Regions from separate parts of the Homo sapiens genome. Here all the other regions are linked to region 1. The links are contacts of gene promoters, found by promoter capture Hi-C in blood cells and fetal thymus (Javierre and others, 2016). All regions are on one chromosome and are shown on one strand. The core of a region is centred on a gene start or on the middle of the fragment in contact, and the rest is flanking DNA. Distances in the headings are between cores, read along the strand shown.

Region 1 (3,887 bases), core at 1,142-3,641:
GCCTGGGCAACATGGAGAAACCCTGTCTCTACTAAAAATACAAAAATTAGCCGGATGTGGTGACGCATGCCTGTAATCCCAGCTACTCAGGAGGCTGAGACAGGAGAATCACTTGAACCCAGGAGGCGGAGGTTGCAGAGAGCTGAGATTGTGCCACTGCACTCCGGCCTGGGCAACAGAGCAAGACTCTGTTTTTTTTAAAAAAAAGTTAAAGCTGAAATTCCTTAATTTGGCATATGAGGCCTTCAGAATATGACCCCAACCTACCCTTCTGGTTTTATCTCCTTCAATCCCCACCTCTTCCATGTCCTGGAGTCAGCACAACTGAATCATTTTTCGTTACCTGATCAGTCCTTTTGCTTTCATACCTGTAGCTACATTGTTTCTTCTCTTTGGAATTCTTTCTTATCATTCAGACAATCTCTTGTGTTTTAAAAACAGTTTGCATCACAGGTCCCCTCCTCTTAAGACTTCCCTAACATCTCCAACAGTCTCTCTCTCTTCCCCTTTCCTTTTCTTTCTTTTTCTGAGTTCTTCTTTAATTGTGTGTAAACACCACTTACCATAAAGAACTGAAACCATACTGTCAAATGCTTGTTTTTACCACTAGGCTTGTAGCTTCCTGAAGCCAGACAAGAAAGCTTTTTTAATCTTTATTTCTCCAGGACCTAGCACAGAGGCTAGTTCATAGCTCTTGCCCATTATGTGTTTTCTGATTTAGCCAAATTTGAAAGGATCCAGGAGTATCTCAGATTATGCCCTCAAAACACTGTCATGATGACTGTAGAATTGCCAGCATCTCTAATTAAACTGTGTATGCTCACCATCTTTAATAAGCAGTTTTGCTAGAATCTGGGATAAATTAACACATCCAGGAGAGAACATCTATTTCTCCTGGGCTATCTAATCCTGAGGCCACTTTCCCTCCCCACACAGTAACTTATTACTTGACATGTCATAAACATACTCCAATAGGGAATCCAGTTTCAGAAGCCCTGGTGCTCTAGTATAGGAAGAAAGGGATTATAGGAAAAAGATTTTAAGTGTGTCTTGGATTCTATTTTCTCAAGGGGCTTTCTATTGCCTTCATTAGGTGGAGATTCACAAAGAAACCAAAAGGTCAGTAAAAAATTCTCAGCCCATACTACTTTCTGGCCTTTTATTTAGGCATATCTTATCCTTGTTTGTCTATTTATCCCCAAAAATAGGGATAACACTCCATCCAGTAACTTTATTTAAAGCTTCAGACTCCCAGTTGTATGAAACTGCTATTCCTCTTTTGCCTCTTATTTAAGGGGCAGGTCTCTAGGAGCCAAGTGTTTGTGAGTTTACACCTCATATTCCTGCCTAGTGTGGATGTTGACAGCCTCAGGAGAACTCTTCCTACATGGTCAGGAAAACTTCCCACCAACAGCCCTGCACAGAGCATCTTTGACCTCTTTATTTCTCAGGGTGTATACCACAGGGTTCAGTAGGGGAGTGATGACAGTGTAGGTCACCGAGATCAGCTGGTCATGTTCTCTGGTGTTCTCTGACTTGGGCTTGAGGTAGGCAATGGAGGCACAGCTGTAGTGGACAATGACCACAGTGAGGTGGGATGCACAGGTGGCAAAAGCCTTCTTCCGGCCCTCAACTGAAGCAATCTTGAGGATTGTAGAGATAATGAGAACATAAGAAATGAAAACCAGACCCATAGGTACAACAAGCACCAGCACACTGATAATCAAAGTCAGGATTTCATTGACAGTGGTGTCAATGCAGGAGAGCTTCATCACAGGGCGGATGTCACAGAAGAAGTGGGGCACCTTTCTAGCACAGAAGGGTAACCTGAATACAGATGTCACTTGCGTTATTGCTACAATCAGCCCAATGCTGCAGGCCCCCAGGACAAGTTGGATACGCAGCCTCTTGTTCATAATAACCATGTATCTCAGGGGGTTGCAGATGGCCACATAGCGGTCATATCCCATTGCTGTGAGCAGGAAGCAGTTAGTGATGCCAAAGGTTACAAAAAAGAACATCTGTGTGGCACACCCTGCCAATGATATGGGCTGGCTCATACCTACGAGGCTGGAGAGCATTCTTGGGAGAATGACCAATGTATATACAGTCTCTGAAGTGGACAGCATGCTCAGGAAGAAGTACATGGGTGTGTGAAGATGAAGATCCATTCGGATGATGGTCACAATGATGATATTGCCTGCTAAGGTTAAGATGTATAGTGCAAGGAACACGCCAAAAAGGGTGATCTGCTGCTCATGGAAGCTAGAGAAACCTTGGAAAACAAAGTCAGTGATGAGAGTAAAGTTCTCTCTTTTCATGGATTGGTTCCCAAATCTGAAACATAAAAGCATAAAAGTCACATAGTCCCAGTAAAGCAGTAGAAGCACATTTCTGAAATTGATTGAAGTTCAATAGTTCTCAGTTACAAATCTGGTGATGTATTTCCTAGTGGATTAAGTTAATCCCTGGGTTTACTTATCTTTACTTAAAATATTTTTACTCTGTGACCATCTGTTATAATTTTCCATGCATCATAGAATCATATAGTCTCACTTTTTCACTGTATAACCATACATGCTCCTACTTCATATCTACTCTTCCTCCCTGACATCTGGAATGGCTTCTCTTTTCTCCTCTTATTTCTTTCCTACTCTTCAGAGATGAGTGCACATTTTCAGGCCTTCATAAAACCGTATTACACTCAGAGGTTCTCATGTTTATTTGGATTATTTTTACCCCATTATTGCTGCCTCACCTCATACAAACACTTAGCAACTTTATAATACCTTTTACATCTTTTCATATTTCACTAGCTCCAAATTATGCATGGATTGGGTGCTTGAAAATAATTTGTTTAGGGATGGACTAGTGATGTCTTTTCTTTCAAGACTATGAATCATCCTCCTTGCGCATCCTTTAAGAATTAGAAGCAAAGTAGAAAGGTTCATCTTGTCTTCAAGAAGAAAAAGGAAAATCTTAGCCAACCACCAGCCTCTCCCCACTTCTGTCTGAGTGATGGAAGTCTGCTGACAGTTCAGAGCACTGATTCACGTATGTTATAAACTATGCTACATCTTTACCTTCCCTAAACTAGAAGGCAAATTTATAGCCAATACAACTTTGTGAGTAAGCCTACACCCACTCTGCAGAGATAAACAATTGTATCAGGAAAGATACAGCAAATTTAAGTGTCCCTCACCTAAAGCAAAAGCAAACCCTGAATATAAAAAAACAGCTACACCAAAGATACATCATTTTGTTGAAGGAAGGGGATCAGTTCAATTTATGTAATATTTCACATTTTTATCTCTTTAAACAGTAAGCTTCTCTAGGGTATTTAAATTATATTCTGATTTGCTTATGCATATTCAGAAAGAGAAGTTTTGCATAAAGTAAATCACATCAATGATGAAGGTTAGTACGCACGGAGACTTTCTTCAAGTTCATAAAAATCTATTTAAAAGAAGTTGATGACCAGCTGTTAATCATTTACACTAAGAATGCTAAAAAGAAAGTAAAGCTGCAATAGAGAATATTTTCCAATAAAGAAAATCATTTGATACTAAAATATATGTCTAAAGACATTTGTCTTCTGTGAGGCTTCTGAGCAAAAACTATGTAGTAGTCCAGCCACGGAGTGGTATGGTGCCTCTATGGTGAAATCAGAAATGCTTGGCAGAGCTTTTAACTGTTACAATAATGAGCACAGAAGCTCTTGGCCATTCACGATGTGAAATGTCCTGCAAAACTTGTGGTGATTCTGCCCAAGGAAGAATTCCCTTCTTCCAAATACCAATAAAGTTCCCATTGAGAAACACACGGCTAAAATATCATCTTATCTGGCTGAAACTTGTCTGTCTTGAGGTAGAAGAATGGCTATTATG
Region 2 (3,419 bases), core at 674-3,173, 260 kb before region 1:
ACACTGATATATCACTGTTATCTAATTTACATATCCCATTCAACTTTCACCAATTATCCAATCATGTCCTTTATAGCAAAAAGATACAAACCAGGATTATACACTGCATTTAGTTGTCATGTTTCTTCAGTCACCTTTGATTTCTAGAGCATTTCCTCATCCTTTCCAGTCTTTCTTTAATTCTCAAAACTTTAACACCTGAAGGCTGTAGCCAGAATATTCCTTGGTTCAGGTTTGTCTGATGTCTTCTAATGATTAGATTCAGGTTATGAATTTTTGGCAGAAATATCACAGAATTGGGGCTGTTTTCTTCTCATTGCGTTCTATCAAGGGAGACACAAGTTTGACTTTTCTCATTACTTGATCATTAGATTAAAGTGATTTTATGTTTTTCTCCATTGAAACTTACTTCTTGTAATTAATAATTTTGTAGTAAGGTGATATTTTAAGACTAGGTAAATATATCATTTCCCATTATACTTTCACTCACTAGTTATAGCATCCATCTATGTTTTTTGAATAGATTAATTATTACTATGATAGTTTATCAAATGGTCACTTTACATTTCCATCATTCCTTCTACTTTTAAGTGAAAAGTGTTATTTTCTCCTCATTTATTCATTCATTTATTTTTATCGCTATGGATCCTAAATCATTTTTTGTCTCATTCTACTGTCTAGTACCTTCACTTAAAAGAAAATGGTAACTGTAGACATCCATTTCATGTTCCTAATGTGAAGAGGAATGCTTTCAATAAGTTGAGATTAAGTATGATACCTACTCTATGGTTTTTTAATTTTATATTTTATTTTATTTTATTTTTTTAGAGCACCCTTGCATTTTCTTATGGCAAAAGGGAAAGTTTAGGCTTGCAGTAGGCATTTCTAATGGTAGCAGCCTCAGGCCTGCTATGTTAGCTTTTTTCTGTGCAAACACATACTCCTTTAGAATTATCAACTACCTTGAAAGATCATCTGTACCTTGATGGTCATATGTACTTTATTCCAGCTTGTTCTCCTCTAGGCGAGTTTGGGAGTGGGAACGGAGTATATCTCAGTGTGGAAAGCTTCTAGTGTTGTAATAAGTTCTCAATTATTTTGTTTACTTCATTTCTGCCACTAGATAGCCGTGTCCTTTGGGACTCCCTACCCACCTAACACCTCTGTCCCAAGAATTTCAGTTTTCCAGAGAATGTCCTCCTCTGTTGCGACCGATTCTTATATGGGTGAGGCAAGAGAGGAAGGGAGGAGAAGAGGATGCTCAGTAATTGGCCAGACTCTGTGAACTTCTTCTTATAAGCATTTCACCCCAGCTAGAGTCTCCCTGATGTAACTCAGGCTGGTGCTGGTGCTGGGCTGGGATGCAGTTTTTCTCACCAACCCACTTTGATAGAATGAATAATAATCCTCTCAGGGCAATGTGGGAAAGACAATAAAAGACTCAGTTAGAAAGTGGTTTCCCAGTCCCTTCCCCAGTTGTAGGACCTGTTTTCCTTTTGCCCTAACCTTTTTTTCTATCACATTGGTGTTCTGTCACCTCTGTTCTTCCCAAGTATTTCCCCCTACTTTTTTTTGTATTGGGATCCCTTTCACTTTTGTGGTTTCTCTAGAGTTCAGCTCAAGGGAAGGAGACCTGAGCCCAGGCTAGCTTGTCATAGTCTACAGAACTGTCAATCTCTCAAGGAAAAACTTAATAGAAGGGTCACAAGAACCATATGAAGGAAAAGGGAGTGTTATTGAAGGACAAGACATGAATAAATTGGAGGGACATGACATCCTCCTGGATGAGAGACTTCATATTATAAAGTCTCAATCATTCCAAGAATGTCAATCATTCCTAAATTAATGCATACATTTACTATTATTTGAATAAAATTTCCAGCTTATATTAATCAAAGAAAATAAATCTGAAATTGATTTTGAAGAATAAATATGTAATAAATGCCAGGAAATTTTTGAAAAGAAAAATAATAGTAGGGATTTTTTTAATAGATACCAGAACTTAATATCTATAAAGCCACTAGAATCAAATCAATATGGCATTAAAACAGGAATTGACAATAAATCAGTGAAACAAATAAGAATTCAGAGACAGATTCAGGTACGTATGTAGTACAGTAATCCATTTCAATGGAGGAAAGAATGGCTCAGACAATAATTAGGGCTGGAACTATTGTCTATCCACTTGAAATAAAGTTACATCTTAATTTTTAACCATCTACAAAACTAAATATTTGATGGGTTAAATCTTTATATATAAAACAACAAAACACCAAAAGTATTAAAACATTTAGGAAAATATTTGTAAAATCTCAAAGTCATGGAGACTTTTCTAAGCAACACAATTACCCATAGCTACCTAAAAACCTTGCGATGGCAAAGTTAATATAAACAGAAACAAATACCAAATGACAAACTAGAAGAATATTACCTCTGCTCTCTTTCTCTCCGTGCGTGTGTGTGTACATGTGTGTATGTGTGTGTATCAGACAAAGGGCTAATATCTTTAATATACTTAAGGTGCTTACAAATAGATGGAAAAAAAGAAATGGCAAAGTGTAGATGTGAAAGGACAATCATCGCAAATAAAATGCAGATGCCCGGTAAACATTGATTTTACTTGTAATCTAAGAAAAGCAATTTAGAGACAACAATGGTATATTACTTTTTTGTTATTAGATTGGCAAAAAAAGGTTTTACTATCCAGTTATCACTAGTTTAATGGGGAAATAAGCCATTTCATGCATTTGTGCTGAGAGTGTAAATTTGTAGAAGCTTGTTGGAATTTAATTTGACAGTATGTATTAAAATTTTGAAAGGCTCATATTCTTTGGCCCACTAATTCTACTTAAAGAAATTTATCTTACAGCAATAAGATCAGAGTCCTTAAGGTGATACATAAAAAGATATTCATTACAGCATTCTAATAGCAAATATTTGGAAAACACATGTGTTCATCAACAGGGAAATCCTCGAATATGATTGAATAAATTGTGCTATCACTATACTATGGAATATTGTGCAGCTATTTAAAAATAATAGACTAGATCTATATGTACCATTCAAGAAAAATGCTCAGGGAAAAAAGCAAATTGCAGATTAGTATGTGCAGCATAATTCAGTTTTGCAACACAAGAGCATTTTTATTTGTACGGACATACAGTTGATAGATAGACAAGCAGATAGATAGATAAGAGGTAGATCTGTATAGAGACAAAATAAATTGGAAAGGATTGTGTTTGTGTTACAATAAATAGGCAGAGGGGGGAACTCTATTATTACTTTATTATAAACATTTTAAAGTGATTGAATTGTGTCAGTTAGTATTCAATGTAGAAAGGAGAAACTATTTTAAATATTTTAAGTGGGAAATAATTTCATATGGAGAATTAAGTGTTTTCATTTTTCACTTTTTGAGA
Region 3 (3,828 bases), core at 163-2,662, 330 kb before region 1:
GATGTTCAAACAGTTATTTAGGATGAGAAAATTTGCAAATTCACATGGAATTTATTTCTGGAATAGCTATGACCATAACAGAGACAAGGTTGATGAGTCAGTCATTTATTTGAAAATTATGATACCCTAAATCCCTTTGGTCAGAAAACATATTTGATTCACAAGAATATGGAAAAATGGTGAGAAAATGTTTTTTAATGGTTAGCTTTGCTCTATAGTCTTTTGGCTTTCCAAAACTATAATAGTTTCAGCCTTTCTGGTCCTTGTGTTTCTAAAACTTTCTACCTCTTTAATTCAATTAAACAAACATGCCAATTAAGTCCAAGTGAACAAAATATTGGGCTATATACTTGACTAAAGATGCAGATAAAAGCATGAAACTTACATTTTGGTTTTGGAGCAGATTGTTATAGCAATGACCTGAATGGATTACACCTCCTAGTATCCACACCCTTATACATGCCTCTCCTACATTTGTACTGGACTCAGCCTTGTACTTGCTTTGGCTAACGTGATATAAACAAATGTGGGCCAGACGCGGTGGCTCATGCCTGTAATTTCAGCACTTTGGGAGGCCAAGGCAGGTGGATCACTTGAGATCAGGAGTTTGAGACTAGCCTGACCAACATGGTGAAACCCCATCTCTACTAAAAATACAAAATTAGCCGGGCGTGATGGCACATGCCTGTAATCCCAGCTACTTGGGAGGCTGAGGCAGGAGAATTGCTTGAAACCGGGAGGCAGAGGTTGCAGTGAGCCAAGACTGTACCACTGCTCTCCAGCCTGGGCAACAAGAGTGAAACTCCATCTCAAAAAATAAAATAAAATAAAATAAAATAAAATAAAATAAAATAAAATAAAATAAAATGAAATAAAATAAAACAAATGTGATAGAAGCAGAGGTATGATAAGCACTTGCATGTTGGGTCTTGTCATCTTGGAACCCTAAGACCTTTATGCTATAAAGAAGCCCTGAATTATATACCGTATGGTAGGAGAGGCCAGTTGAGCCCAGTCCCCAAGCTGGATGCAGCTGCATGAATGATCCTAGGTATGACCAGTAGAAGAGTGACCCAGCTAACTCACAGAATCATGAGAAATAGAAATTGCTGTTAAGCCACTAAATTTTGGGGTCATTTACTTCATAGGAATGGAAAACTGATCTATATCTATATCTATATCTATCTCTCTCTATATATGTGTGTGTGTATATATATATATATATATGGTCATTTACTTCATAGGAATGGAAAACTGATTTTATATATATATATATATATATATATATATATATATATATATATATATATATATATATTTTTTTTTTTTTTTTTTTTTTTTGAGATGGAGTCTTGCTGTGGCCCAGGCTGAGATAGTGGCGCGATCCCAGCTCACTGCAACCTCCACTCTCCAGATTCAAGTGATTATCCGATTATCCTGCCTCAGCCTCCTGAGTAGCTGGGATTACAGGCGTCTGCCACCATGACTGGCTAATTTTTGTATTTTTATTAGAGACAGGGTTTTGTCATGTTGGCCAGGCTGGTCTCGAACTCCTGATCTCAGGTGATCCGCCTGCCTCGGCCTCCCAAAGTTCTGGGATTACAGTCGTGAGCCAACGTGCCCGGCCAGATATAAAAATTTATACCCAGAAATGGTATGTTGCTGTAACAAAAAGCTAAACTATGTGGCATTGGCTTTGGGGTTGAGTGGCTGGAAGAGGCAGTAGGTGCAGCGAGTAGATTATTAGTGGAGCCTGAGGACCTGAGAGGAAACTGCTACTGGAGGCTGATAAAGGGCAAATCACATTATATAGTAGTAGAATAACTGGCAACACTGTCATCTTCAGAAACTTGGAAGATAAAAAATGTACTTAATTAACTTGTAGATTTGGCTTAAGGAAGTTTCCATTTAGAATGCTGAAGGGGCCAATTAGCTTTTTAAAGGTGATAGATAATAGGGTATAGGAAGAGAGAGATGAACCAAAAAAAAAAAAAAATGAATTGCTCCATTTGCAAGCAGAATTTAAAGCAAATATGGAGTGCCCAGGATACGCTAGGTGAGAAATAAAACTGTCTCACATTTCCAGTCTCTCCTACTGCCAAAAGATTCTCAAAGTTAGAAATGTTCTCAGGGTACAAATTAAATCAAGGGTGTGGCTACAAGACTTTCTTAAGACCACAGAATGATTTAAAATAGTGACTATTAGATTCTCTCAGCTAGGCAAAGTGGCTTTTAAGAATTTTAAGGGCATTTTTTCCACGGCACATTGACATACTGAACCAAAGTAGAGGCCTATCTCAAAAATAGTTGTGGGTATAGCTTTTGTCTAGTCAAGTGGACTATCACCTGGCATATAGAAAGCCCACATAGAAAGGTATTGGATTAGTTTAGACTAACTAATGTACAGGAAGTTCAAAATAAATAGAAACAGGAGGTAAGATGAGAAAATCACTCAGCTGCACACACAGGCTATTTTTATTGAAAACATGGGTCATCTTGGAGAAAGCAGAGGCAACCACTTCCAGAGAGTAGAAGTAGGTAAACCAGGCTGTATTCAAGAACCGTTTTCTATACCTAGAGTAGAAGGTCCTGCAATATACTTATGTGAAGGGGTGGGTTGCCCCTCCACACCTGTGGGTGTTTCTCGTAAGGTGGAATGAGAGACTTGGAAAAGAAAAAGACACAGAGACAAAGTATAGAGAAAGAAATAAGGGGACCCGGGGAACCAGCGTTCAGCATATGGAGGATCTCGCCAGCCTCTGAGTTCCCTTAGTATTTATTGATCATTTGTGGGTGTTTCTCCGAGAGGGGGATGTGTCATGGTCACAAGACAATAGTGGGGAGAGGGTCAGCAGACAAACACGTGAACAAAGGTCTTTGTATCATAGACAAGGTAAAGGATTAAGTGCTGTGCTTTTAGATATGCATACACATAAACATCTCAATGCTTTACAAAGCAGTATTGCTGCCTGCATGTCCCACCTCCAGCCCTAAGGTGGTTTTTTCCTATCTCAGTAGATGGAACGTACAATCGGGTTTTATACCGAGACATTCCATTGCCCGGGGACGGGCAGGAGACAGATGCCTTCCTCTTGCCTCAACTGCAAGAGGCATGCCTTCCTCTCATACTAATCCTCCTCAGCACAGACCCTTTACGGGTGTCGGGCTGGGGGATGGTCAGGTCTTTCCCTTCCCATGAGGCCATATTTCAGACTTTCACATGGGGAGAAACCTTGGACAATACCTGGCTTTCCTAGGCAGAGGTCCCTGTGGCCTTCTGCAGTGTTTGTGTCCCTGGGTACTTGAGATTAGGGAGTGGTGATGACTCTTAAGGAGCATGCTGCCTACAAGCATTTGTTTAACAAAGCACATCTTGCACCGCCCTTAATCCATTTAACCCTGAGTTGACACAGCACATGTTTCAGAGAGCAGGGGGTTGGGGGTAAGGTCATAGATTAACAGAATCTCAAGGCAGAAGAATTTTTCTTAGTACAGAACAAAATGGAGTCTCCTATGTCTACTTCTTTCTACACAGACACAGTAACAATCTGATCTCTCCTGCTTTTCCCCACACTTATGACTGGATTTCAGAATTGCTATGGATCAGAAGGCTTTGTGGCTTTCTGTTCCTCCCCCTTTTAAATGGGAGTATCCATTGAGTGTACCATTCTCACAATTGTGTGATGAGTATGCATGGAGACAATAACTTTTTTTTTTTTTTAAATTCATGGGTTCCTGAATGAGGAGAAGCCACACCTGTGGAGCTGCATGAGGAACTGCACCCAAGTAGCCTCAGCCACACCTGGACCTGAGATAGATAAGGAGTCT
Region 4 (3,741 bases), core at 1,187-3,686, 300 kb before region 1:
GGTCTTGGCTTTGTGTGTGTGTGTGTGTATGTGTGTCTGTGTATGCAGGCAGTTAGGTCTCAGTTCCCACTCCACGCAAGGTCTTGTCTCTTGCCCCTGAAGCCAAGACCTGGGCAAGTAAGATAACCCCATGCTCTTATTATCTTTCACTGTGGCTTTCCTGCTCATTTTTTATTGTTTCTTGGGGCTTTCCTTTGCCGTTTTGTAGATTAACTATGCGTTTAAAATTATGTTTGTTATTTTTTACCAGTACTTGTAAACCTTCTATAGTTTGAATTTTTCCAGTCTATTATATTGACAGAAATGAAAGTCCTGTTCTTTGCTTCCTTTTTAAAAATCCAATTTTTTATTTTGAGAAATAAAAAAATAAAAACTACAAAATATTATTTCAAATACATTTGATCCTACACCCAGAACTGGAAACTCTTTGATTTATTCCATGAATATTTATGTGCCATATACTGTTCTAGAAACTTGGGAAAAATCAGCGAAGAAAACAAAAAAAACAAAAATCTCTCTTTCCATAAAGCTTATATTCTAGCATAAGAAAAACACAATGAATAATAAACGTAATATAAAATTATATTATGTGGTCTGTAAAAGGGGATAAATGCTCTGGAGAAATAAAAACAAAACAACTAGAGCAGGATTTGGGAATGAAGAGTGTGAAAAGAAGACTGACTTTTTTTTTCCTTTTAAAATAAGGTGATCCCCAACAATAGACAAGCAGAGAGCCAAATCATGAGTGAACTACCATTCACAATTGCTACAAAGAGAATAAAATATCTAGGAATAAAACTTATAACAGATGTGAAGAACCTCTTCAAGGAGAACAACAAACCACTGCTCAAGGAAATAAGAGAGGACACAAACAAATGGAAAAACTTCCCATGCTCATGGATAGGAAGAATCAATATTGTGAAAATGGCCATACTGCCCAACGTAATTTATAGATTCGATGCTATTCCCATCAGGCTACCAGTGACTTTCTTCGCAGAATTAGAAAAAAACTACTTTAAATTTCATATGGAACCAAAAAAGAGCCCATATAGCCAAGACAGTCCTATGCAAAAAGAACAAAGCTGGAGGCATCATGCTACCTGACTTCAAATTATACTACAAGGCTACAGTAACCAAAACAGCATGGTACTGGCACCAAAACAGAGATATAGACCAAGGGAAAGAGAACAGAGACCTCAGAAATAACACCACACATCTACAACTATCTGATCTTTGACAAATCTGACAAAAACAAGCAATGGGTAAAGGATTCCCTATTTAATAAATAGTACTGGGAAAACTGGCTAGCCATATGCAGAAAACTGAAATTGGATCTCTTCCTTATACCTTTTACAAAAAATAATTCAAGATGGATTAAAGACTTAAATGTAAAGCTCAAAACCATAAAAATCCTAGAAGAAAACCTAGGTAATACCATTCAGGACATCGGGATGGGCAAAGACTTCATGACTAAAATACCGAAAGCAATTGCAACAAAAGCCAAAATTGACAAATGGGATCTAATCAAACTAAAGATCTTCTGCACAACAAAATAAACTATCATCAGAGTAAATAGGCAACCTACAGAATGGGAGAAAATTTTTGCAAGCTACCCATCTGACAAAGGTCTAATATCCAGAATCTACAAAGAACTTAAACAAATTTACAAGAAAAAAACAAACAACCCCATCAAAAAGTGGGCGAAGGATATGAACAGACACTTCTCAAAAGAAGTCATTTATGCCACCAACAAACATATGAATAAAAGCTCATCATTGCTGGTCATTAGAGAAATGCACATCAAAACCACAATGAGATACCATCTCATGCCAGTTAGAATGGCGATTATTAAAAAGTCAGGAAACAACAGATGCTGGAGAGGATGTGGAGAAATAGAAACACTTTTACACTATTGGTGGGACTGTAAATTAGTTCAACCATTGTGGAAGACAGTGTGGCGATTCCTCAATGATCTAGAACCAGAAATACCATTTGACCCAGCAACCCCATTACTGGGTATATACCTGAAGGATTATAAATCATTCTACTATAAAGACACATGCACATGTATGTTTACTGTAGCACTATTTACAATAGCAAAGGCTTGGAGCCAACCCAAATGCTCATCAATGATAGACTGGATAAAGAAAATGTAACTGATATACACCATGGAATACTATACAGTCATAAAAAAGAATGAGTTCATGTCCTTTGCAGGGACATGGATGAAGCTGGAAGTCATCATTCTCATCAAACTAACACAGGAACAGAAAACCAAACACTGCATGTTCTCATTCAGAACAATGAGAACACATGGACACAGCAAGGGGAATATCACACACTGGGGCCTGTCGGGGGGTGGGGGGCAAGGGGAGGGAGAGCATTAGGACAAATACCTAATGCGTGTGGGGCTTAAAACCTAGATGATGGGTTGACAGGTGCAGCAAACCACCATGGCACATGTATACCTATGTAACAAACCTGCAGGTTCTGCACAAGTATCCCAGAACTTAAAGTAAAATTAAAAAAAGTAAGGTGGTCCTTGTAGGCCCCACTGAAACAATGACATTTGGGTAAAACTTGATGGAGATGAGGGAGTTGACCAGGTAGATTTCTTGGGGAAGAACATTCCAGGCAGGGGGAATAGCTAGTGCAAAGGCCTTAAGGTGGGAGTGTGCCTGATGGGTTTGAGGAAAAGCAAGAAAATCTGTGTCACTAGAGCAGATTACGGGGAAAATCCAGAGAAATGGGGCACAAGATGACAATAGAGGAAAGTCATGGAGGGAATTGAAGGCCACTGTAGAAGACTTTGGCTGAGTGACATGGAAGTCATTGAAGGTAATTATTTTTTCCCCTAAGAATAATACAAAGAACTTTCTGTTTTATGAAGCATTTAAGGATAAGTTGCCAATGTGATACCCTATTACCTGTGCTAAGGTTTGAATGTATGTGTCCCCCCCAAATTCATATGTTGGCATCTAAGCTGCCATGTGATAGTATTAAGGGGTTGGGCTTTTAGGAGGTGATTAAGTCATAAGGGCTCCATCCTCAGGAATGAGATTACTGACCTTATAAAAGGGGTCAAGAGAATTATCTAGGCCTGTTCCCTCTTCCATTTCTGCTGCCATGTGAGGACACCGTGTTTGGGGCACCATCTTGGAGGTAGAGACTGGGCCCTCACCAGATACTAAACCTTCTGCCACCTTGATCTTGTACTTCCTTCCCAGCCTCTAGAGCTGAGATAAATACATTTCTATTATTTATAAATTACCTAGTTTGTGGTATTTCCATTCCAACAGGAATGGATACCCAGACTGCTCATGGCACTGCGTGTCTAAGACACCGTTAAACACTTTAATGTATAATTTCTACAAGCAAGGATATTTTCCTTTACAAGTACATAACAACAATCAAAATAAAAAAATCAGCACCAATATATTAGTACCATCTTATCCCCAGACCCTCTGCAAATTCACTAATTCTTCCAAATATGTCCTTTTTAAAGCAAAAGTACCCAATATAGATCACACATTGCATTTAGTTATCATGTCTCTTTAGACCCCTTTATTCTGAAAGAGTTCTTCAAATTGTCTTAATGTTCATGACATTGGCACTTCTGCAGATTACAGGCCAATTGCTTTGGAGAATGTTCCTCTTTTGGAGTTTGTTGGGTGCTCCCTTGTGATTAGAATCAGGTCAGTTATTTTTTGGCAGTAATATCACAGAATAGTTGCATTTTTC
Region 5 (3,576 bases), core at 477-2,976, 270 kb before region 1:
GTTGGCCTTAGATGTAACACAGGGAGAGCTCATCCCTTTTAATAGAGGAAGACAGAAAGGCTGGTACATTGGGTTGTAGGAGGATATATAAGGATATCAGTTAGGTGTTAAGAACAGAAAGACTGAGTTAACAGTGATTTAACAAAAGAGGAGAGTATTTCTCCTTTAAGTAAATTTTCAGGTAGGCAGCCTAGAGCTGATGCAGTGGCTCCATACCCAATTATCCAGGCTCCATCTATCTTGTTGCCATGCCAACCTCAACATGCAGCTTACACTTGCTGGCCTGAAAGTGAACTATTCCATCTCCTGCTATCATGACTGAATACTAGTCAAAGGGAAAAAGGGGGAAGTGGGAGGGGAAAGCACATACCTTTCTTAAAGAGCACAACCTAGAGATGGTCCCTATTCTGTTCATATCTCGTTGGCCTTAATTTAATCACATCATCACTGCAAGCTACAGTGGGGGCTGGGAAATTTGGTGTTTGAGGGGATGACCAAGCGCCCAACTGAAAATGTTATTCTTCTCTTATGAGAAGTAGAGAATGGATGTTAGGGAATGGCTAGAAGACTCTACTACAAAGGATACGGTGGTTCTTTTCTGATTGCTTCTAACTTCTCAATGAAAGGTGAGTTCATCAGCTGAATGAAAGAATAAATGAGATTTTGGGGACTTGAGGAGCAAGGAGAAGGAGTATAATAGTCATTTTGAAGAGTGAGTTAAGTAGGGAACTGTAGTAAGATTGACAGACAGTGTGGAGGGATTACTTGAATCTTGTGAATAGAGGAAAGAGTAGAATCAGATTATCCTGACTCCTGCCTGAAGCTTTACATATTCAGAGAAAAATGTTGGAAGAAACTTTGATATAATGCTATGTCTGTGATCAGGCACACATTTTACTGGACTTTTACTGTCAGGGCCGTCATTTAGTGCCAAGATGTCTAGAGAGTTCTTAATAAGTGTACTCAATTGGCTGAGAAAATGTGTCCATGCAAAAAACCAAACACCGCGTGTTCTCACTCATAGATGGGAATTGAACAATGAGAATACTTGGACACAGGAAGGGGAACATCACACTCTGGGGACTGTTGTGGGGTGGGGGGAGGGGGGAGGGATAGCATTAGAAGATATACCTAATGCTAAATGATGAGTTAATGGGTGCAGCACACCAGCATGGCACATGTATACATATGTAACTAACCTGCACATTGTGCACATGTACCCTAAAACTTAAAGTATAATAATAATAAAAAAATGTGTCCATGGCTCTGGGAGGAGCATGTTTGTTTTCCTCATTTCCCAGTCTGTAAATAAGCAAATTGAAAGGGGTTAGTGATAATGTCCATCTCCAGAAGCTGTCAGATTTCCTTTGTCAAACTCTATGATTTGGGCTGAAGTAGGTGTTGGAGAGGCAGCTACCACGTGCACCCAGATGGCCACTCGTTTAATATGTTACCATTTCCCATTATTTTCGCAGGATAGATAGCCAAAGTGGAGCCCTGAGAGATTTCTTCATTTTTCCTGTCATAAAGAATTGGTAATTCAGTAGTCATAGGAGTTTGTAATAAATAACTCACATTGATTTCTCTGTTCTGAAATAATTTTGCTTCCCCTCTTCCCGAAGCTCTGACACCTGCCCCAACAAGCAATGTTGGAAAATTATTTACATAGTGGCGCAAACTCCCTTACTGCTTTGGATATAAATCCAGGCAGGAGGAGGTAGCTCTAAGGCAAGAGATCTAGGACTTCTAGCCCCTGAACTTTCAGCCGAATACATCTTTTCCAAAGGAGTGAATTCAGGCCCTTGTATCACTGGCAGCAGGACGTGACCATGGAGAAGCTGTTGTGTTTCTTGGTCTTGACCAGCCTCTCTCATGCTTTTGGCCAGACAGGTAAGGGCCACCCCAGGCTATGGGAGAGATTTGATCTGAGGTATGGGGGTGGGGTCTAAGACTGCATGAACAGTCTCAAAAAAAAAAAAAAAAGACTGTATGAACAGAACAGTGGAGCATCCTTCATGGTGTGTGTGTGTGTGTGTGTGTGTGTGTGTGTGTGTGTGGTGTGTAACTGGAGAAGGGGTCAGTCTGTTTCTCAATCTTAAATTCTATACGTAAGTGAGGGGATAGATCTGTGTGATCTGAGAAACCTCTCACATTTGCTTGTTTTTCTGGCTCACAGACATGTCGAGGAAGGCTTTTGTGTTTCCCAAAGAGTCGGATACTTCCTATGTATCCCTCAAAGCACCGTTAACGAAGCCTCTCAAAGCCTTCACTGTGTGCCTCCACTTCTACACGGAACTGTCCTCGACCCGTGGGTACAGTATTTTCTCGTATGCCACCAAGAGACAAGACAATGAGATTCTCATATTTTGGTCTAAGGATATAGGATACAGTTTTACAGTGGGTGGGTCTGAAATATTATTCGAGGTTCCTGAAGTCACAGTAGCTCCAGTACACATTTGTACAAGCTGGGAGTCCGCCTCAGGGATCGTGGAGTTCTGGGTAGATGGGAAGCCCAGGGTGAGGAAGAGTCTGAAGAAGGGATACACTGTGGGGGCAGAAGCAAGCATCATCTTGGGGCAGGAGCAGGATTCCTTCGGTGGGAACTTTGAAGGAAGCCAGTCCCTGGTGGGAGACATTGGAAATGTGAACATGTGGGACTTTGTGCTGTCACCAGATGAGATTAACACCATCTATCTTGGCGGGCCCTTCAGTCCTAATGTCCTGAACTGGCGGGCACTGAAGTATGAAGTGCAAGGCGAAGTGTTCACCAAACCCCAGCTGTGGCCCTGAGGCCCAGCTGTGGGTCCTGAAGGTACCTCCCGGTTTTTTACACCGCATGGGCCCCACGTCTCTGTCTCTGGTACCTCCCGCTTTTTTACACTGCATGGTTCCCACGTCTCTGTCTCTGGGCCTTTGTTCCCCTATATGCATTGCAGGCCTGCTCCACCCTCCTCAGCGCCTGAGAATGGAGGTAAAGTGTCTGGTCTGGGAGCTCGTTAACTATGCTGGGAAACGGTCCAAAAGAATCAGAATTTGAGGTGTTTTGTTTTCATTTTTATTTCAAGTTGGACAGATCTTGGAGATAATTTCTTACCTCACATAGATGAGAAAACTAACACCCAGAAAGGAGAAATGATGTTATAAAAAACTCATAAGGCAAGAGCTGAGAAGGAAGCGCTGATCTTCTATTTAATTCCCCACCCATGACCCCCAGAAAGCAGGAGGGCATTGCCCACATTCACAGGGCTCTTCAGTCTCAGAATCAGGACACTGGCCAGGTGTCTGGTTTGGGTCCAGAGTGCTCATCATCATGTCATAGAACTGCTGGGCCCAGGTCTCCTGAAATGGGAAGCCCAGCAATACCACGCAGTCCCTCCACTTTCTCAAAGCACACTGGAAAGGCCATTAGAATTGCCCCAGCAGAGCAGATCTGCTTTTTTTCCAGAGCAAAATGAAGCACTAGGTATAAATATGTTGTTACTGCCAAGAACTTAAATGACTGGTTTTTGTTTGCTTGCAGTGCTTTCTTAATTTTATGGCTCTTCTGGGAAACTCCTCCCCTTTTCCACACGAACC
Region 6 (3,486 bases), core at 187-2,686, 460 kb before region 1:
GTTACCCTGGGCTGAGAAAAGAATAGATTTTCAATTTGGACAGTTTTTTCTTGGCTTGTTTCCTCTTTGGTTACACGGATAGTAACTATGTCATGCAGATGTGCCTGGGAGAATGGGGTGAATACAGGAAGCACCTTATTCACAGTGGGCCGGTTACTTGTCTTCCCTTCTTTCTGAGCTGCAGGGAACGGGGTTCTAATGCCAAGGCTTAGTAAGGAAGGTTCCCACGAACAAAACAGCCCCTTCTCTCAGTCCCAAGCCTCCCAGGGACTGTGCTCCTCCTCTTCAGGCCTTCCCTTCTCCCTCTGATTAAGCCTTCAACACTTGGTGGGACTGGGCAGGGGACACAATTTTGTACTCTTGATCCCAAAGGAGATAAAGGCTGGGAAATCTAGGGAAGGAATGTGAAGCCTGTTGGAGTAAGTCCTTTTAAAAGCAGCAAGAAGTGACCTTGTCTCCCTCTTTCCATTCCCCCGGGGCTTGTGAATAGCCTTCAGTGCCCAAGTTGGAGTAAGAGCTTCAGAAAGACTGGCTGTGAGGGTTTGGAGAGAGGTTTGAGAAAGCAGCTCAGAGACTCACAGAGTCACACCAAGAGCTTAGCTAATCAGCTAATCAGCACTGGAGGAAGACAAATGTCCTTGGTCTGGTGGGACAGCTTCGTGAGGCTTGGAGCATGCAGCCTACCAAAGTGAGCTCAGTGCCAGCCCTGCAAGTTGGGAGGTAGAGAGGCCAAACCAAATTGGAAAAAATGACAAAACCCCTATGTACTTTCTAGAACAATACATACCAGCTAGGAAGTGTTAAAAGACAAGCTCCCCAAAGTCAGTTCCTTAGCTTTTGACTTATTCTAATGTAGGGCCTCCATTTTTAATAAACTCTCCCAGGTGATTCTTAGCTGCAGATTTGAGGCCCGCAATTTAAGAAACTGCTCTTGAGACTGCATAGACATCCTCAGGGCTGGAAGTTCTTTGTTGACCCGACCAGATTCTCTCCTGCTGTGGAACTGGTTTGTCCTGATCCTGCTGGCTTCTCTGCAGACTACACTCATCAGGGGTTGGCTTGGCGCCTCCTGGGCAATGGGGCAAGAGTAATCATAGCAACCTAGGTGAAGTCCCAGGGGAAAACTGTGACCCTGGGCCAGGCTCCTGGGGCCGCTGACAGTTAGAACCCCCTCGGCCCATAGTAAGTTCTTTAGGTTCGGGTTCTGACCGAAAAGTTTGGCCAAAGCCAAAGTGGAGAGCAGGGCACGCCAGGGCGGGTCAATCCTTCAGAGCCGCGGTTGGGCTGGAGCGTGGAGCTGCAACGGTTGGAGCGACGGGCTCCGGTTCCTAAGCCACCAGCACAAGGCAACTGCCCGCTGGAGGTGGGAGGGGCGGGGCCGGGGGCGGGGCCTGAGCCGAAGAACGCGGGCTAGTGGTTGCCAAGGTAACGCGTCAACACTAGGGCCTTGGCGGCGCCGAGGCGGCAGCAGAAGTCCGGAGTCAGGGCGTGTGGCTGAGGAGATGGTGAGGGAGAACCTCAGATGGGCCCCTTGTGTCCTGAATTGGGTGGGGGCTCTGAGTGGGGAAAGTGGGGGCCTAGGGGAGGTCACAGTTGGGTCTAGGGGTCAGGAGGGCCCAGGAGTAAGGAGAACACCTCTAGAAGAAGCAAGGGAGATCCTGAGGTGGGTTCAAAAGAGGAATTAGGGATAGCATCGATAACGATTGGAAATGTGGAGCGCGCTGAGCGGAGGAGTTGGGGAGAAAGGGATGCCCCAACCCTCTCCCCGTTGCCATTACAGCGGGGCCTCTGTGGACCAAAGATTGTGGATGTGGTGTGGGAAAAAGCACTGGTGGGCCGGGCGCGGTGGCTTACGCCTGTAATCCCAGCACTTTGGGAGGCAGAGGCGGGCGGATCATGAGGTCAGGAGATCGAGACCATCCTGGCTAACACAGTGAAACCCCGCCTCTACTAAAAATACAAAAAATTAGCCGGGCGTGGTGGCGGGCGCCTGTAGTCCCAGCTACTCGGGAGGCTGAGGCAGGAGAATGGCGTGAACCCGGGAGGCGGAGCTTGCAGTGAGCCGAGATCGCGCCACTGCACTCCAGCCTGGGCGACACAGCGAGACTCCGTCTCAAAAAAAAAAAAAAAAAAAAAAAGCACTGGTGAGGAGGCCAGATAATGGGTCGTGGTACCTGTTTTGCCACTAACTAGCAAGGTGACTGTGGGTAAGTCATCTAATGTGCCCGAGCCTCAGGTTTTTCTTCTGTTAGCAGGGCTTTGTATCCCTCAGTAGTTAGTCAATAAATATTTGGCAGTGAATGAATGAATGAATAAATGAGTGAGTGAGTGAGGAGGGTCTCAGGTTTGCAAGGCCCGGGAGAGAGATTGGGACAGGACTGGCAGCCTGGGGTTTGCTGGGATGGGGAGGGCTGTCAGGGTACTGAGGGCTGAGAAGGCCAGCAAAGCCTGGGAGGAACCATGAAGGGGATGCCTGGGCTTGAGTGTGTTGGTCCCAGAGGGGAGGGGAAGGGCAGATGATAAGTGTTGGAGTCTTGGGTTATTGGAACTGACCTAGAATGTCTGGGGCACAACAGGTGGCAAAGGTTGCTACTTGGATGTACTTGTGGACAGACTTCAGGCCCAGGGGCTGCATTGCTTTTCTGGGGCTCAGTGGACCTCAGAAGAATTTTGTTAATTATTAAATAAGTCTCCAACAAAGAGCAGTTCCTGACTTTCGAGGACTCCCTGCAGTGTTGTAATTGGGGTGGGGGAGCGTCCCCTTTCACTTATGTATTCTATTTGATTCAGTGTCCCATCTTCTCTCAGCACCTTACAAACACAGTGGCGTATGTATGTATGTGAACACCTACTGTCATGCCTGGTGTCTAAGGGCATATGGTAAATGTTAGTTCCCCTTTTGTCCTCTTTTAAAAATTTCCTATTTCCAAGCTCTCATAGGGCATAAGTTGCACCTGGGCAAGACCTGTGGGCTTCAGAGCACCCAGATCAGGGATTCCCCATCCAGGAGCCACTCAGGGCAGGGGTTTGACTCACTCACTGAGCCCCTCTGTAATTCCTGGGACAGGACTGGGCATATAGACACCTTTGAGAAGCAGTGGGTCTAAGTTAGTGATCTCTGGCAGGCCAGCTGTGTGTGTTCGTGTACGTATAGTGCTACTCACTAGGTTTGGAGAATATTTAAAGGCATGAGAAGAGATAGTAGTGGTGGTGAGGGTCACAATTAGGCAGACTTCCAGAACTCTTACAAAAATAATGATTAAAATCCTGCAGAAGGAGAGATGGGGACCTCAGTACTGACTAGGATGTTATCTTCTGGTGGCATCCTACAGATGGCCAACTTGGTCCCAATTGAAGAAAGAGGATAATTGCGTGGATCACTCAGAGTAAAAGGCAAGGGGTCTCGTGCATGGGAATCTCCCTTTCTTGGTAACCAAAGTCTACAGAAAGGGAAGTAGAACCAGGCCAAGAGTTTGAAGCCTGAAT

Evidence for each region. Contacts are between HindIII fragments. The CHiCAGO score rates a contact against its expected background, and 5 or more counts as called.
Region 2: a fragment that was not itself captured here is called in contact with the fragment with the promoter of OR10J1 in region 1 in 1 of 17 cell types (M2 macrophages); the score reaches 6.0 in M2 macrophages.
Region 3: a fragment that was not itself captured here is called in contact with the fragment with the promoter of OR10J1 in region 1 in 4 of 17 cell types (M2 macrophages, M1 macrophages, endothelial precursors and 1 more); the score reaches 11.0 in M2 macrophages.
Region 4: a fragment that was not itself captured here is called in contact with the fragment with the promoter of OR10J1 in region 1 in 4 of 17 cell types (endothelial precursors, M2 macrophages, neutrophils and 1 more); the score reaches 6.3 in endothelial precursors.
Region 5: the fragment with the promoter of CRP here is called in contact with the fragment with the promoter of OR10J1 in region 1 in 5 of 17 cell types (M2 macrophages, endothelial precursors, M1 macrophages and 2 more); the score reaches 6.5 in M2 macrophages.
Region 6: the fragment with the promoter of CFAP45 here is called in contact with the fragment with the promoter of OR10J1 in region 1 in 2 of 17 cell types (M1 macrophages and M0 macrophages); the score reaches 5.5 in M1 macrophages.

Annotation. Positions count from the first base shown.
Region 1 is chr1:159,438,226-159,442,112 of GRCh38, reverse strand. OR10J1 (olfactory receptor family 10 subfamily J member 1) reads right to left here and starts at 2,391. Exons shown (of 1, transcript NM_012351.3): 1 at 1,146-2,391. The coding sequence starts at 2,321. The coding sequence ends at 1,392. The HindIII fragment of the contact is 2,085 bases long and covers 1,244-3,328 here.
Region 2 is chr1:159,695,167-159,698,585 of GRCh38, reverse strand. No RefSeq gene overlaps it. Among named protein-coding and RNA genes, the nearest start is that of CRP, 18 kb to the left of the region's middle. The HindIII fragment of the contact is 1,708 bases long and covers 1,070-2,777 here.
Region 3 is chr1:159,767,541-159,771,368 of GRCh38, reverse strand. No RefSeq gene overlaps it. Among named protein-coding and RNA genes, the nearest start is that of DUSP23, 12 kb to the left of the region's middle. RefSeq lists enhancers at 1,833-2,786, 2,787-3,740. The HindIII fragment of the contact is 5,272 bases long and covers 1-3,828 here.
Region 4 is chr1:159,740,199-159,743,939 of GRCh38, reverse strand. No RefSeq gene overlaps it. Among named protein-coding and RNA genes, the nearest start is that of CRP, 27 kb to the right of the region's middle. The HindIII fragment of the contact is 3,809 bases long and covers 532-3,741 here.
Region 5 is chr1:159,712,739-159,716,314 of GRCh38, reverse strand. It overlaps CRP (C-reactive protein), which reads left to right and starts at 1,726. Exons shown (of 2, transcript NM_000567.3): 1 at 1,726-1,890; 2 at 2,177-3,576. The coding sequence starts at 1,830. The coding sequence ends at 2,790. The HindIII fragment of the contact is 4,063 bases long and covers 826-3,576 here.
Region 6 is chr1:159,898,115-159,901,600 of GRCh38, reverse strand. CFAP45 (cilia and flagella associated protein 45) reads left to right here and starts at 1,436. Exons shown (of 12, transcript NM_012337.3): 1 at 1,436-1,505. The coding sequence starts at 1,503. MIR4259 (microRNA 4259) reads left to right here and starts at 1,522; the gene lies at 1,522-1,622. It overlaps LOC124904435 (a long non-coding RNA gene), which reads right to left and starts at 1,351. Exons shown (of 3, transcript XR_007066679.1): 1 at 788-1,351. The HindIII fragment of the contact is 6,665 bases long and covers 1-3,486 here.